3 separate regions of the Homo sapiens genome follow, and regions 1 and 2 are each linked to region 3. The links are contacts of gene promoters, found by promoter capture Hi-C in blood cells and fetal thymus (Javierre and others, 2016). All regions are on one chromosome and are shown on one strand. Each heading gives the region's core, a stretch centred on a gene start or on the middle of the fragment in contact. The rest is flanking DNA. Distances are from core to core; before and after follow the strand shown. Region 1 overlaps FBXO30 (F-box protein 30). Region 2 holds the start of EPM2A (EPM2A glucan phosphatase, laforin). Region 3 holds the start of STXBP5 (syntaxin binding protein 5).

What was found. The method cuts DNA at HindIII sites, captures the fragments that hold promoters and counts their contacts. A CHiCAGO score of 5 or more calls a contact.
Region 1: a fragment that was not itself captured here is called in contact with the fragment with the promoter of STXBP5 in region 3 in 2 of 17 cell types (total B cells and fetal thymus); the score reaches 6.0 in total B cells.
Region 2: the fragment with the promoter of EPM2A here is called in contact with the fragment with the promoter of STXBP5 in region 3 in 2 of 17 cell types (fetal thymus and total B cells); the score reaches 8.2 in fetal thymus.

What each region holds. Positions count from the first base shown.
Region 1 is chr6:145,807,022-145,811,370 of GRCh38, forward strand. All of the region lies in intron 1 of FBXO30 (F-box protein 30), which reads right to left. The region is part of intron 1 of EPM2A-DT (EPM2A divergent transcript); the gene reads left to right. Among named protein-coding and RNA genes, the nearest start is that of FBXO30, 5.6 kb to the right of the region's middle. The HindIII fragment of the contact is 245 bases long and covers 2,331-2,575 here.
Region 2 is chr6:145,733,966-145,737,908 of GRCh38, forward strand. It overlaps EPM2A (EPM2A glucan phosphatase, laforin), which reads right to left and starts at 1,555. Exons shown (of 4, transcript NM_005670.4): 1 at 1,233-1,555. The coding sequence starts at 1,533. EPM2A-DT (EPM2A divergent transcript) reads left to right here and starts at 904. Exons shown (of 3, transcript NR_038246.1): 1 at 904-955. RefSeq lists a silencer at 1,030-1,619 and enhancers at 1,780-1,839, 1,850-1,899, 1,920-1,969. The HindIII fragment of the contact is 8,125 bases long and covers 1-2,861 here.
Region 3 is chr6:147,202,989-147,207,417 of GRCh38, forward strand. It overlaps STXBP5 (syntaxin binding protein 5), which reads left to right and starts at 1,429. Exons shown (of 28, transcript NM_001127715.4): 1 at 1,429-1,694; 2 at 2,983-3,080. The coding sequence starts at 1,545. STXBP5-AS1 (STXBP5 antisense RNA 1) reads right to left here and starts at 1,626. Exons shown (of 11, transcript NR_034115.1): 1 at 1,425-1,626. LOC124901422 (a long non-coding RNA gene) reads right to left here and starts at 583. Exons shown (of 2, transcript XR_007059803.1): 1 at 1-583. RefSeq lists silencers at 612-1,031, 1,062-1,111, 1,132-1,211, 1,382-1,571. The HindIII fragment of the contact is 4,433 bases long and covers 1-2,000 here.

The DNA.
Region 1 (4,349 bases), core at 1,203-3,702, 1.4 Mb before region 3:
ATTTATCCAGAAAATAAAAGTTCAAGCTCAAGCTCTGTGGCTGTGGGCAAATAACTTACTTTTGAGGGCCACATTCATTCATTAAATGCCTATTTATTGTTTAACTATCATGGACCATGCACTGTGTTTGGTGTGGCAATATAAAGATTAGCAAGTCACAGTGCCTCCTCTCAAAAAGCTACAGCAGGATGTCAAAGACAGTAAAAAGTGTATCTCGTTTTTATGTGGTCAATTTGACAGAAGTAAAATGGTACCAATAGAGAAGATAATAATCAATATGAGTAGGGATTAGAGAATAAATCACAGTAGTCTTGAAAGAGAAGTCTTAAGTATGGGACGGTAAACTGGTAAGAAAGAGAGGCATTCAATGCAGAAGTAATAGCATATGCAAATACAGAAAAGCATGAATTAGCAAAACCTCAAGTTCCCTAGTATTGTTGGATCACAGGGGAAAATGCCAGGTATCTGTAAGAGATGAGGTCAGAAAGGAATAAGGCAAATCATGATGAGTGCTTTATGCTGCTCCAAAGAGTTCACACTTTTACAACTGGAAGTCACTGAGAATTTTAAGCAGAGAAATAGTTCTATAAAATAACATGAATGGATTATAGATGTCTAATGGTCTTCCCTGCTTTAAAATTTCCATCATAACCTTTATAAAGAAAAGTTTTATATGAAAAATAAAAGTCTAACCATAATATATTGACTTAATTATAATTATTGAGCCTATTCAATGTATTTTTAGTATAATCAACTTCTTTACTGGTGTGTTTCCTATTAGCAATAAAAACTTTAAAAGATTATTTAACCTTTAAAAACTAAAATAATAGTCACGGTGGCTCAAACCTGTAATCCCAGCACTTTGGGAGGCCAACATAGGAGGGTCATTTGAGGCCTGGAGTTCAAGACCAGCCTGGACAACATAGCAAGACCCTGTCTCTACAAAATAAAAACAAAAAAATTAGCCAGGCATAGTGACATGCACCTGTAGTCCCAACTACTTGGGAGGCCAAGGCAGGAGGCTCAAATGAGCCCAGGAGATTGAGGCTGCAGTAAGCCATGACTGTGCACCCCTGCATTCCAGCCTGGGTGACAGAGTGAGGCTCTGTCTCAAAAAATAATAATAATAATTGAAATAATAACATAATATCCCCCCTTTACCACCATTTTTTTTTTCTTATCCAGTCAAACTTTCAAAAGAAAAACTGAAAACCACCAAAAAAAAACGTCTAATTTCCTATATATTCTTTAACTCTCTATTCTGGCCCCATTTTTACTACCCCTATTAAAACTGCTCTGCTGAGAACCTCAATACTAAATCTGGAGGCATATTTTTCTAGACCCCATCTTCCTTGGCCATTGTATCCTGATGATGACTAATCCCTTATTTTAGGACTATTACATCCTCTTACTTTTCATGATGTCACTCCAGTCTTTCTCCTACCCTTAGTCTTCTTAACTATTACTCAATAATAATTATTTAAATATTGCATTTCTTCAGGGCTTGTGTCATTTTTTGCTTATTCTGTACATTCTCCCTGGGTGCTCTCATTTTCTCCAAAAGTTTCAATTACCATACATAAGCTGAAAATCCGTCTATACATGCTGCCCAGATTCCTCTTTCAAACTCCTCTTCACTCTCTACAATGGATTACTTATGATATATTTCTACTTGTATATGGCACAGGCAACTCAGTTCAACATTTCCAAAATTAAATTACATTGTAGTAGACAAGAATTTTCTGGATAGGAAGGTGATTCTTATCCTGTTTTCTTCACCTCAGTGCGTAAGAGATTATTAACTCTCTGACATATTTTTCCATAAAATCTATCTTGGCTCCAGGTAACTAATTAATCACTCCTCAATTGCTATTATCTTTTTCTCCAGTTGAGGTATGAGTTTTCTCAAACTAAAATAACAAAAGTGTACCTGAATCATCATCAACAGAGCTTTTCTTGATTCAGTAGAAAAGTTCCGAGTTGATATTATGGTGTTCAATGATGTCAAAGAAAAGACAAGGTATATATTCAACGCCAAACCTATATTTTTTAATTGTGTTAAAAACTACAAATTATGAGTTGAATACTTTTAAATGTTTATCTTCATGAATTTTAGACATAAGTATAGAAATATATAAATAGACATACTAAAATAGTCATATAGAAATAAAAGACTAATAACAAACATTTGTAAATTAACCAGACATTTAAAGAAAAACTTTATTAAGAATTATGACAAATCTTACTGAGTGATTAGACTGTGAAAACAGCTGTAGCTTTCTTATTTTGCAGGAACTAGACTGAGTTGATCTCACATGCTGAAGGTTACAAGCTTGACTGTTACTAAGGGAGAAACCTAAAAATACAAGCAGTTTCACCAGAAGTAACCAGTGCTCTCAGAAGTTTTAGGGACACTTTATGTTACTGTACACACCATCACATGACATCACCAGGCAAAACATATCTTAAAAACATCACTTAATTCAAAAGTGCTTAAAATAGCAACTGCTTGCAACAGGGTCTGAGTTAAAAGCAAAAACAGCAATAATTTTCAAAGGTAGAAGGAAAGTAGTCAAGCTTCAAACAAATAGTCTCTTTTACACTACCCATCCCCCTTTGAATAAGGTTTCAAAAAAGCATCCATAGCAACAAGTTCATAACATTTATTATTTTCTGAAGTAGACTTAGAAGGAAGAGAGAACAGTAATTATGTACCTATTTTATCCTTCTTTACACATCTTTATAACAACCTGGAGGAAACTGAGGTTCAGAAAGAGCAAGTGATCTGCCCAAGGTCATCTACCTAGTAAGTGGCAGAGCTAGGACTGTATGTTCTAGCTCCACGTCTGATCAACATCCATGGACAATAACAGGTATGTTTACTTATAAAAGTTTAAAAAACTTAGGCAGCACTTCTGTAACTGGTGATCCAATGTTAAGATGTTATGTGAAGAATGGAGATTACACAACTTTGCTTGTAGTTTATCCCAACACTTAATCACTCCTGTGGTCAAGAAAGTCTTTTGGTCCCTTCCAATTATAATAGCATTTTACTCTGCTTTGAATATATATGTTTTAAATTATTTGAAGAATAATTTACATAGATAATGCTCAGTATAAGTGTATGGAACATTATATTACTAAATTTAACAATTATTAAAATAGCCATACAAATGAGGAGTGAATTTCAATTCCATTTTCCTATTAACTATATTAAGAAAAAAGTTAAGAAAATATAGTAGTCAATACTCAAGAGTATTCTGGGAATAGAATCCTCAGCTTCAGAATTTAAAACTCTCCTAGATTCATCCTCTTCCTAATCAAGACCACTACTATCAAATTAAACATGCCTTTATAAAGTATTTTGCAATTGCTTGTAAATCCTGTAAAACAGGTTTAAAAACATCAATCTCTTATTTATCAGTTAACAGTGACACAGTAGGCACAGTAGAAAACAACTAACATCTCTAATAATTTATATTTGAATTTAAATTGTTGGAAAAGTTTCGCTGGACCAGAAAATATTAGTAAATCATCAAATGTTTTCAATTCTTTCAATTTTCTCTGAGAGAAGTTCTTTGCCAACTCATACTCTGTGGCTGACAAGCAATTCATTAAAATAGTTCTAAGACATGGCATTTTCCCATATAATGAAATGAGATCTTGTCATTAAAGGCATAAATATATTGCCCTCAAAAAAGCATTTTTAAAAAATTCATTAAAATACATAAGGAGGTAAGTAAATATAAAGAAGTGCAAATTAGCATGATTTTAAAATATAAGAGTCATCTAATGTATTCAAAATAACCTGCTGCCTCCAGGCTGTTCCTAATGTCTGCCTCTACCTCTAACACACAGACACAGACACACATCCCTTTTCCTCCCCACACGCCCCTGCTGCCTCAACCCTAAGTCTTGGCTTACCTGTTACTTTTCCACATACTCCAAAGACAAGGTAATGGATCCCATATTGTGTGTACTCATTACATACTGTCTTTTTCCTTGGTAATACTAGTGACAACTCTAAGTAAGTCATCATTCTGTATAATATCTATTTCCACAGGAAAGCTATAAGCTCCATGAAAGTCAGAATCATCTCAGTCTCATTCATTCTTATGTTCCCTACATTCAAAATTCTGCCTCAATTAGAGACTCATTTGTATTAAATATACGAAGAATTATAATATAAGAAAATAATGAAATGGACAAATGAGATTCTTCATTTCACAGAAAACTACATATTCCACATAAAAATACCTTACAGATCTGGCATCAATCAAACTGAATCAAAATTACTTCATTGTATTGGCCATAAAAAGTCAATGGTGCTCAAACACATGTTAAGCACA
Region 2 (3,943 bases), core at 305-2,804, 1.5 Mb before region 3:
AGCTGTCTCAATTCAGACACTGTTGGCGGGAGCCGACATTAGATAATCACCCTTTTAGGGCATAATTTAGCAGTCTTTAATGAAGTGTTAAAAAAAATGACTGCATTTTGACCTAATAATTTCACTTCTTTGAATCCACTCTGCAGAAACACTCCCGAATGTTCAAAGATATCTGTAAAAGGAATTTCAATTAAGCCACTACTGTTTACGACAGAGGAAAACTGAAAAGAACCTAAATGCACATTGGTAGATGCAGAATAATTTGTTGCCATTTAAAATATACATCTACATGTAAAATACATATCTACGTGTAGTGACAGTGAAAGATGTCCCTAACATATTGTTAGGCAAGAAAAGCAAAAATTCAGAATTACTATACAATTTTTGTAAAAAAAAAAAGTATATGCATATATCACATACATAAATGTGTACAAGCAGTGTGCTTAAGATGTGTGGAGGAAACACTGTAAGTTTTCACTATGTACATTTCTTTATTATTATTTTACAACCAGCATGTATTGTTTTAGTATTTTAAGAAATCAGGTCATGTCTCAATTGTCATATATCTGGGATTAAAAAAGAAAAAAAAATCCAAAAAGGGAAATATTCAACGTTTTTCCATTAGTTCATTCTCAATATCTATGAAAAAAATCTAAGTAGCACATTGCTGTCTAGGATTAGCGAAAACGCTAGTTTCGTTGGTTGGATCGTTTTGGGTTTTTTTTAGTGAATTAGAGCAGGAAAATGAGGACACAAAACCCAACCAAGGCGGAGTTGGGCTGTTGAAGCCATCAGCGGCGCGCGGCCGGGCAGCCAAGGGACCCGCGAAGGGGGGGACTCGGAGGTCGAGGGGCACTCGGAGGGCGAAGGGAGCCCCGGGCGGGAGACGAAGGGCACTGGCCCGTGACGCAGGCGCGGTTGGAAAGAAGCTGAGGACTGGATGTGCGGAAACCAGGTCAGAGGGGCAGGCAACAGAGTGGGCGGGAAGGCGGCCGGGAGCGCTATACGGGTCTAGGGAATCAGTAGGAAGCCGGAGGCGCGGCTGGCGGCGACAGCGTGGCCGGCAGAGCAGGGTCAGCCCAGGTCGCCCGGGGAGTGCGCAGGGACGCGGGCAAAAAGCCCGGGACGCGCGCCGCCGGGGCCTGCGGGGCCTGCCCGAGGCCGAGGCCCCGGTTGGGGGTGCGGGCCGGAGCTCCCGCTCTGCGCCGGGGGCAGGCGTCTGCTGGCAATACCTTCCCAGGAGAGCTCTCCTCCCGGCTCCCGCTTCAGGAACTTGTACCAGAACGTGTCCACGCGGCCCGGCTCCGCCCCGTCCTGCGCCGCCTCCTCGGCCGCCAGCTCCACCTCCCCGAGCCACAGGCCCGGCTCCTGCAGGGCCAGGGCCCCGTCGCCCGCCGCGGTGCCGGCCGGCCTCAGGCGGACGGCACCGCGCGGCTCCCAACGCCCCAGCTCGGGCCGCGACCCCACCACCAGCAGCTCCGGCCGGGCGCCGGCCACGGCGGGTGGCACCACCACCCCAAAGCGGAAGCGCATGGCGGGCGGCGGCGGCGCGAATACCCGGGCCCGGAGTCCCCGCGGCCGGCAGGCGCGGCCCGAGCACTAGGCGGCCGCAGCGATTGGGCGGTGGTGTGGGAGCCCCGGGCACCGGGGAGAACACGTGCTGTTCTGCGCCTTCTTTGGGATGCATCACGCGGCTCCCGAGCCCAGACTTCGTCCAGGCCGGCGGGAAGGGGTCAGCGGAGCCGCTAGCTGCCTCTTTGTGCCCCGCAACCCCGCGGGCGGTTGATTTCCACCTGTGGGCGCTGGGGACACGCGACCGGAAGAAATGGAAGAGAAAACGGGGTTCGGGGAGGGAGGAAAACTTCTAAGCCAGGCGATCGTCCAGTTCTCTCTCCAAGAGACTGGAAATTAACTTTATGAGGATCATAAGGAAGGGAATGACCTCTAGACAGCCGCCTTCTAATTGTGAAACGGGGGAAGATCTTGGACCTGGTCTCTGGAGCGCTCCCTATCTTAACCAAGTCACTTACTCTAGCAGGTCTCAGGTTCTTTGTCTGTAAAATGAGGGTGTAAAATAATGATCTTTCTAGACCCTACGAGCTCTGAAGGATCTCTGATTGGTGGAGATCACCCAAGACCCGGAGCTGATGCAAAACATTACCTACCATTCCCTTGTCTGAAAAGCCACATCAACTTTCTTTTTTCAAAAACTATATTTTTAGTATGTGTAAAGTAAGTTTGGAGTAAATACTTTCAAGTCCTTTTCAAGGTCAAAACAAAAACTAATTCTGTGACTACAAATGTATGCTTTTTTTTTTTTTTTTGAGACAGAGTCTCGCTCTGTCCAAATGTATGCATTTTTAATGGAGTAAATTAAAAAAAAAAACCTTTGTTTAAAATTTACTTTCAGCAAAAGTCAGCATTATTTTTTCAACTTAAAACCTTTTTGGGTTTTAAGTTGAAACAGGTTTTTTAGCTGTCTGGCCCAAATCCAAAATACGTATATCTTGGTGGGGAACTTCAATTTGTCTCTGCCATAAGACAAACGAATGTCCTGATACTTTTTGATTCTTTAACAAAATTATCCTTGTATTCTTAGGTTTATATATTCACTAACATTTAACATAACACAAATCTGTTACGTGAATTAAAGACACACAAAGGCATTTTTACCAGTGTTTGGAAGTTTGTGAATAGTAAAGGGGAACAGGCCAAAATTTCATGCGTTGAGGATATAAGTAAAACAGAAAGTGCAAAAATGTAAACTACACAAACTCAATCTCTTGTGGAACAATTAGAAAACTAATAATACATTTTACTCTTGAATGTTGATATTCCACTCGAAGTTTGGTTGGTTGCTAAGCTTAAGGATAAACACTATGAAAAATGTGAAGACAGAAGGGCTGGCCAAACACAGCTGATTCGGCAGCAAATCACACATTAAATCACAGTGGCATGTGAGTCGGTTTATTCAAATTGCTGTTAAAAGATATTCTTAGAGTAAGTTTAGGAAAATAAGAGTCATTTGGCGATGCAGAGAGGATTTTGTCTACAGTGGAATCCAGACTCCGGTGAAAGTTCTCATTCCTTCAGGACCTGGGAGCTAACAGCTCCGGACTTTCTTGTGCTCCACTGTGCTGCCTATGTTGTGTGCTTCCCAAATGGCATTATTCCCACCAGCTCTTCCAGAGTGAGTTCTGCCCATTCTGTAGAAGAAACAGTAGCGGAAAAATTAAACAATATCTTTGCTCAACGGACATTGTTTCCTTTACTCTTCTTTCATCATAAAGAGGTTGAAATAATTTTAACCATTGGAAGAAGTAACCCTCTTAAGCCCCTAAACAAAATTTGTAATAGCTTATTTTATGGCAAGGATTTAAATAAGGTATAAATTGGATAGCTGCACTGTGTAGTAAGTAAAATGCAACTGGAAAGGAGAACAAGACCAAAATAGGGCTTAAGGGACATATATCAAGGCCTTGATCATATTTTGACGGTCAGTCATTTGGATGTATAAGTATTAACCATGATAATATCCATTGAGCCTATATTATGGGCCAGGCACATGGTTTTCGTACTCATATTATCTTATTTAAGTCTCTCACCAATCCTATAAGGTAACTACAATTGTTACCCCCATTTTTAGATGTGAGGATACTTCAGCACAAAAGGGTCCAATGAACAGCCCACAGCAAGGAAGGGGCAGAGCCAGGGGCTAAAAGGGGTGCATTCAGCTTATAGATATAGATACAGATATAAATTCTGATAAGGAAAATCTGTTTCAGAATGCATATAAATTCTAGCATATTTAAATGTTATTCTCTGTCAGCTCTTAATTTAAAAAAAATAAATTCCTATCATTATTTCTTGTAACTAACTTCATCCTTAGGAATTAAAGAACAGATGAATCATGAGTGGCAGTCTAAACGGATCAATGACTCTG
Region 3 (4,429 bases), core at 179-2,678:
CCCGTTCTAGAGTGAAGCTCCCAGGGCATTACTGAGTGGCTCATCAGCGTCAGGGCAGATTGAAGGTTCTGAAAAATAGTGGCAGCGCGGCGTTTCCTGCCACCCGCGCTCCTCCCCGGCGAGGGGCTGGGTGCGGGGTAGTGTCATCGGCCCGGGCTGACACCGGCCCTGGAACCGTTCCCCGCTGGCAGCCTCTTCCATCCCAGCAGCTAACTGCTAAGACCAGACACGTTCCACCAACAGTAACAGCTGTAGGAAAGAACCCGTTTTTTCCCGTCTAGGTTTCTCTCCTTTTCCTAGTACCTAAGTCCATCATCCTCCTGCCACTGACATATCGTTGTCTAGACGCTCTTTTTCAAAACTCAAATCCAATCAAACAAAAACAACGCCCGTCAATAAAGCAAGAAAAATAATACTGCAGCCAGCGGCCAGGAGCGTGCACCCCATTAACGGCGAGAAAGCATCAACCCCTGCTGTAATGACTGAATTGGAAAGAAAGGTTTCCTGCTGCTTGTTAGTCGTCAACATTTTTACTATGCCAGCTGCAAGAGAAGCAGCTGCATACTCTGGCAACTCGACTGGGGTGGGAGAAATTTAGCCAGCGTCTGGGATTTTCGCAGAAGATAATTTAAGCCCCAGCTTCGCTCGGGCTGGGGGGCTGGGGGCCTGCTGGGCCAGGGTGGGGGAACCGGGCTGCGGCGCGCATGCGCAGGTACCGCAGCCCGGCTCCTGGGAGGCCCTGCTGCCGCCACCGCCGCGGCCCGCGCTGTAACCGCGGCTGCCGCTGCTGCTCCGGGCGGGCGTTGGTGCCGTGTGCCGAGGCGCCCTGTCAGGCGATGGGGAGCGGCTGGGCGGGGAGAGCCGACGGCCGCGGCGGCGCCTGAGGAACGCAGCCGGGCTCGGGAGCGGCGAGGGCGGGCCGGTCCAGCGGCGGAGGAGCGAGGCGGGGCGAGGCAGGCGGCGCGGGGACCCACACCAGGCGCCTTGTGTGCGAGGCCGAGCGGCGGCCGCGGACAGAGAGCCGGCGACCCCCGGCAGGAGGAGAAGGAGCCGGAGGACGCGCCGAGGGACTGCGGGGCCGGGGCGGGCGAGCAGCGGCGCGGCCGCGGGCCATGGACGCAGCGGCGACGGTGGCGGCGCCGGGGGCGAGCCGGGGCGGCGGCGCGGCGCAGAGTCCGCCCGCGGCCAGGTGAGGCTGGGCTGAGCGGGCTCGGGCGCCGCCGCCACTGCTGCTGCTGCTGCTGCCGGGCCGCGGAGCGAGGCGGCGGCGGCGGCGGCTGAATCGGCACCACAGCAGCCGCGCCAAGCAGCGGCGGCCTCGGAGGAAGAGGGGTCGCCGCCCAGGTTTCTTGCGGCCGCCGCTCTTGTCGTCGCAGTATTTCCTGTTCGGATTATCTTTTGCTTCCCCCCAGCTGCCTCCTTACCCTCACACTCCCACTCCTCCGTTTCCGCGGTCGAAGCTGCCTTCGGCCCCGGGTGGTCTCCCCCGCCCGGGGACCCCCTGTGCCTCCCCTCCCGGGCTGCGGGGGAGCCCCTCCGAGACCATGAGGAAATTCAACATCAGGAAGGTGCTGGACGGCCTGACCGCCGGCTCGTCCTCGGCGTCGCAGCAGCAACAGCAGCAGCATCCGCCTGGGAACCGGGAGCCGGAGATCCAGGAAACGCTCCAGTCCGAGCACTTTCAGCTCTGCAAGGTGAACGGAGCGCGCAGCCCCGCGACACCGTCATTGAAAAATTGGGGTTGTTTTAAGGGGGCTACTCGGGCTTTACATGGGAATGCAAGGGAAGAGAACGCCAATAATAATAATAATAACTCTAATAAAAGGCTCGCTCCTCCCTTGGCAAACGTTTCTTCGGTGGGTTGTTTTGGAGATTGATACCTTACTCCTTTTCATTGATTTTTCTCTCTCCCCTTTGCACATGCAGCAATCAGTTCAAGGTTGCTTCAAACTATTATCCGACCTTTAATCGTATTCTGACACTGCCAGTAATAACCTGGAAGCTTTTATATTCAAGCGTTTTAATATGATTCACCAACTTCGAAGTTTCCTTTGGAAACGGTGTCTAATGAATGTTGTTTATCAAAAAGCCAAACCTGTTCTACCACACCTTTGCTCATCACTTTTCCCTTAAAATGTGGTGTAAGTGGCTTACGATATGAAATCACAGGGTTCTTTTTATCATTATGTTTGTTAAAAAGTACTGAGATTTTTGCCTGTTAATGGCACGATAATTGCCATAGCGTTCTGTAATTCAGAAAGAATGATGCAGCGAATTAAGTCACCAGCTGCTTAATGAGAAACACAAACTTGCCTCGGTTTTAATACCTGCCTTTCTCATAAATAGCCATGTATTTGTATGTCAGAGTTAATTAAAAGTGTGCATATATATATATATATATATATATATAGGTCTAATGCCCTAAAATGATTATGGCCTTAATAGTAAATTGCAAAAATGTATGTTGTACTCATCTTCATTCTGTTACAAGTGTAAAATGTTGGGATAGAGGTTTGATTATTGCTCTACTGAATGCTTGACTAAAGTAATTATATGACAGCTTTTCCTTAGAAGTACTTGCGTTAGCATCCAAATAAAGTAATGATGAAATGAATACTGCCAAAATAAAGTATGAATTGCATTTAATGGGTTTACAGAATTTTGGACCATTGCAAACTTTAGTCATCTGGTGTCGGATGTAGTAGTATAGAATATTAATAAAAGATTTTCTTCTATGGAATACCAGTATTATGGAAAAGCGAAATTAAAGTATATCACTGGACTAGATTTTTGTTTGTTTCAGGTTCTATGTGAATAACTTTGTTAATGTAGGTTTCACTTATTTTTTCAAAAGCAGTAAGTGCATGTGTATGTGTTTTGCATCAGTGGTAGTGGTTCTAAATTCTAACGCCTCTATTGACTTTCTATTTTAAAATTTCGCTTGCTGCCTTGGTTGCTGTGATGTCACTTGCCCATCCCTAGACTGTTCGCCATGGATTTCCCTATCAACCCTCAGCCCTGGCCTTTGATCCTGTACAGAAGATCCTGGCAGTGGGAACTCAGACTGGTGCTTTAAGGCTGTATCCTTTCTTTAATTTTATTTTTTAACTTCTACTTTGTTCTCCCCAGTCCTTCTGTGTTGCTGATTAGTTCCAAAGAAAGTTTTTATTTTCCTGTTGGTGTGATTAGATATATACTATGAGAAATCATGTGTTGGCTTTTCCCTTGATTATAATTCAGCTTATATACTGCTGTGATGTTTCTCAGCTCCTAGTTTATAGTAGCTAAACATATATCCAAATAGAGGTCTAAAGTTTTTTTATGATAACTATTTTATTTGTAAGGAGATAGAAGTTTCTAAGGAAAAATATATCTGCTTCTATACTATTGGTGTGATGAATGAGGTATGTTAAGGATGAGGTTTAAAGACAATTACTTTTAAAAATATTATGCATGGTAGATATTGAACTTATGACCTATTCTAATAAATTAGAGATTGGATTTCAATCTGAATTTGGTTGTTTTTGGCATGTCCGTGTAGAAAAACAATTAGCAGAAGTGTAGCAAATTAATTTTCTATGAATAGTTATAAATGGTTAATATTTCTACCAGTTTTTAGAGCGTTTTCTTGAAAAATGCATGGGGATAAATTTTTTCTCTTGATATACTTTTTCTCTCATAGTCTACATTTGTTATGTATTTGTAAAAACTGTTAGGTTACTATACATTAAACTAGTAGTATAGAATTACTTTTCCTGGTTGTGTATGAACTATATTAGTTTTATCAAGCATTTTTTTAAATACTTCAAAAGATTTTTTTCAAGATAATTTTTTAGTGAGAACAGTACAGACGACTCACTTTCTATTTTTATGTTGAAATGTGTTTTCTTTTACTGTGACTTTGAAACATACTTAACCTAAATATATTCTTAAACTTAAGATTTGGATTCATCTATCTGTGGGATATCTACCTCCTGCATATTAATGAGTAATGTGTTGGTGATAAATAGAAAAAAAAAATCACTAGATGATTTCAGTAGACATTACTATTGTCAAAAAAAAGAAAAGAAATATACGATAGGGGAGGAGCTTTACCCCTTTATATTTTAGATTTTTCTGGTTCCTGAGAAGGAGTGAGGGAACCTGCATTTGAGTTAAACATGTGCCAGGCATTTTACTTACATTTTAAAGTCATTATTTCAAAGAAGTACTATGTGATACATACAAATATATATATATGTATAGATAGATAGATAGATAATGCCTCAAGTTTTATTTGTCACTTAATGTGCTATCTTCAAAATGCTAATAGAAGTTTTAGGATGGACTATTGAACTGTGTTACTAAGTGAAGTCTACTATACATAGTAAATACTACGCAGTCATACCTTTATAAACGACAAAATCTGACCAGGCTAGATCTGAATCTG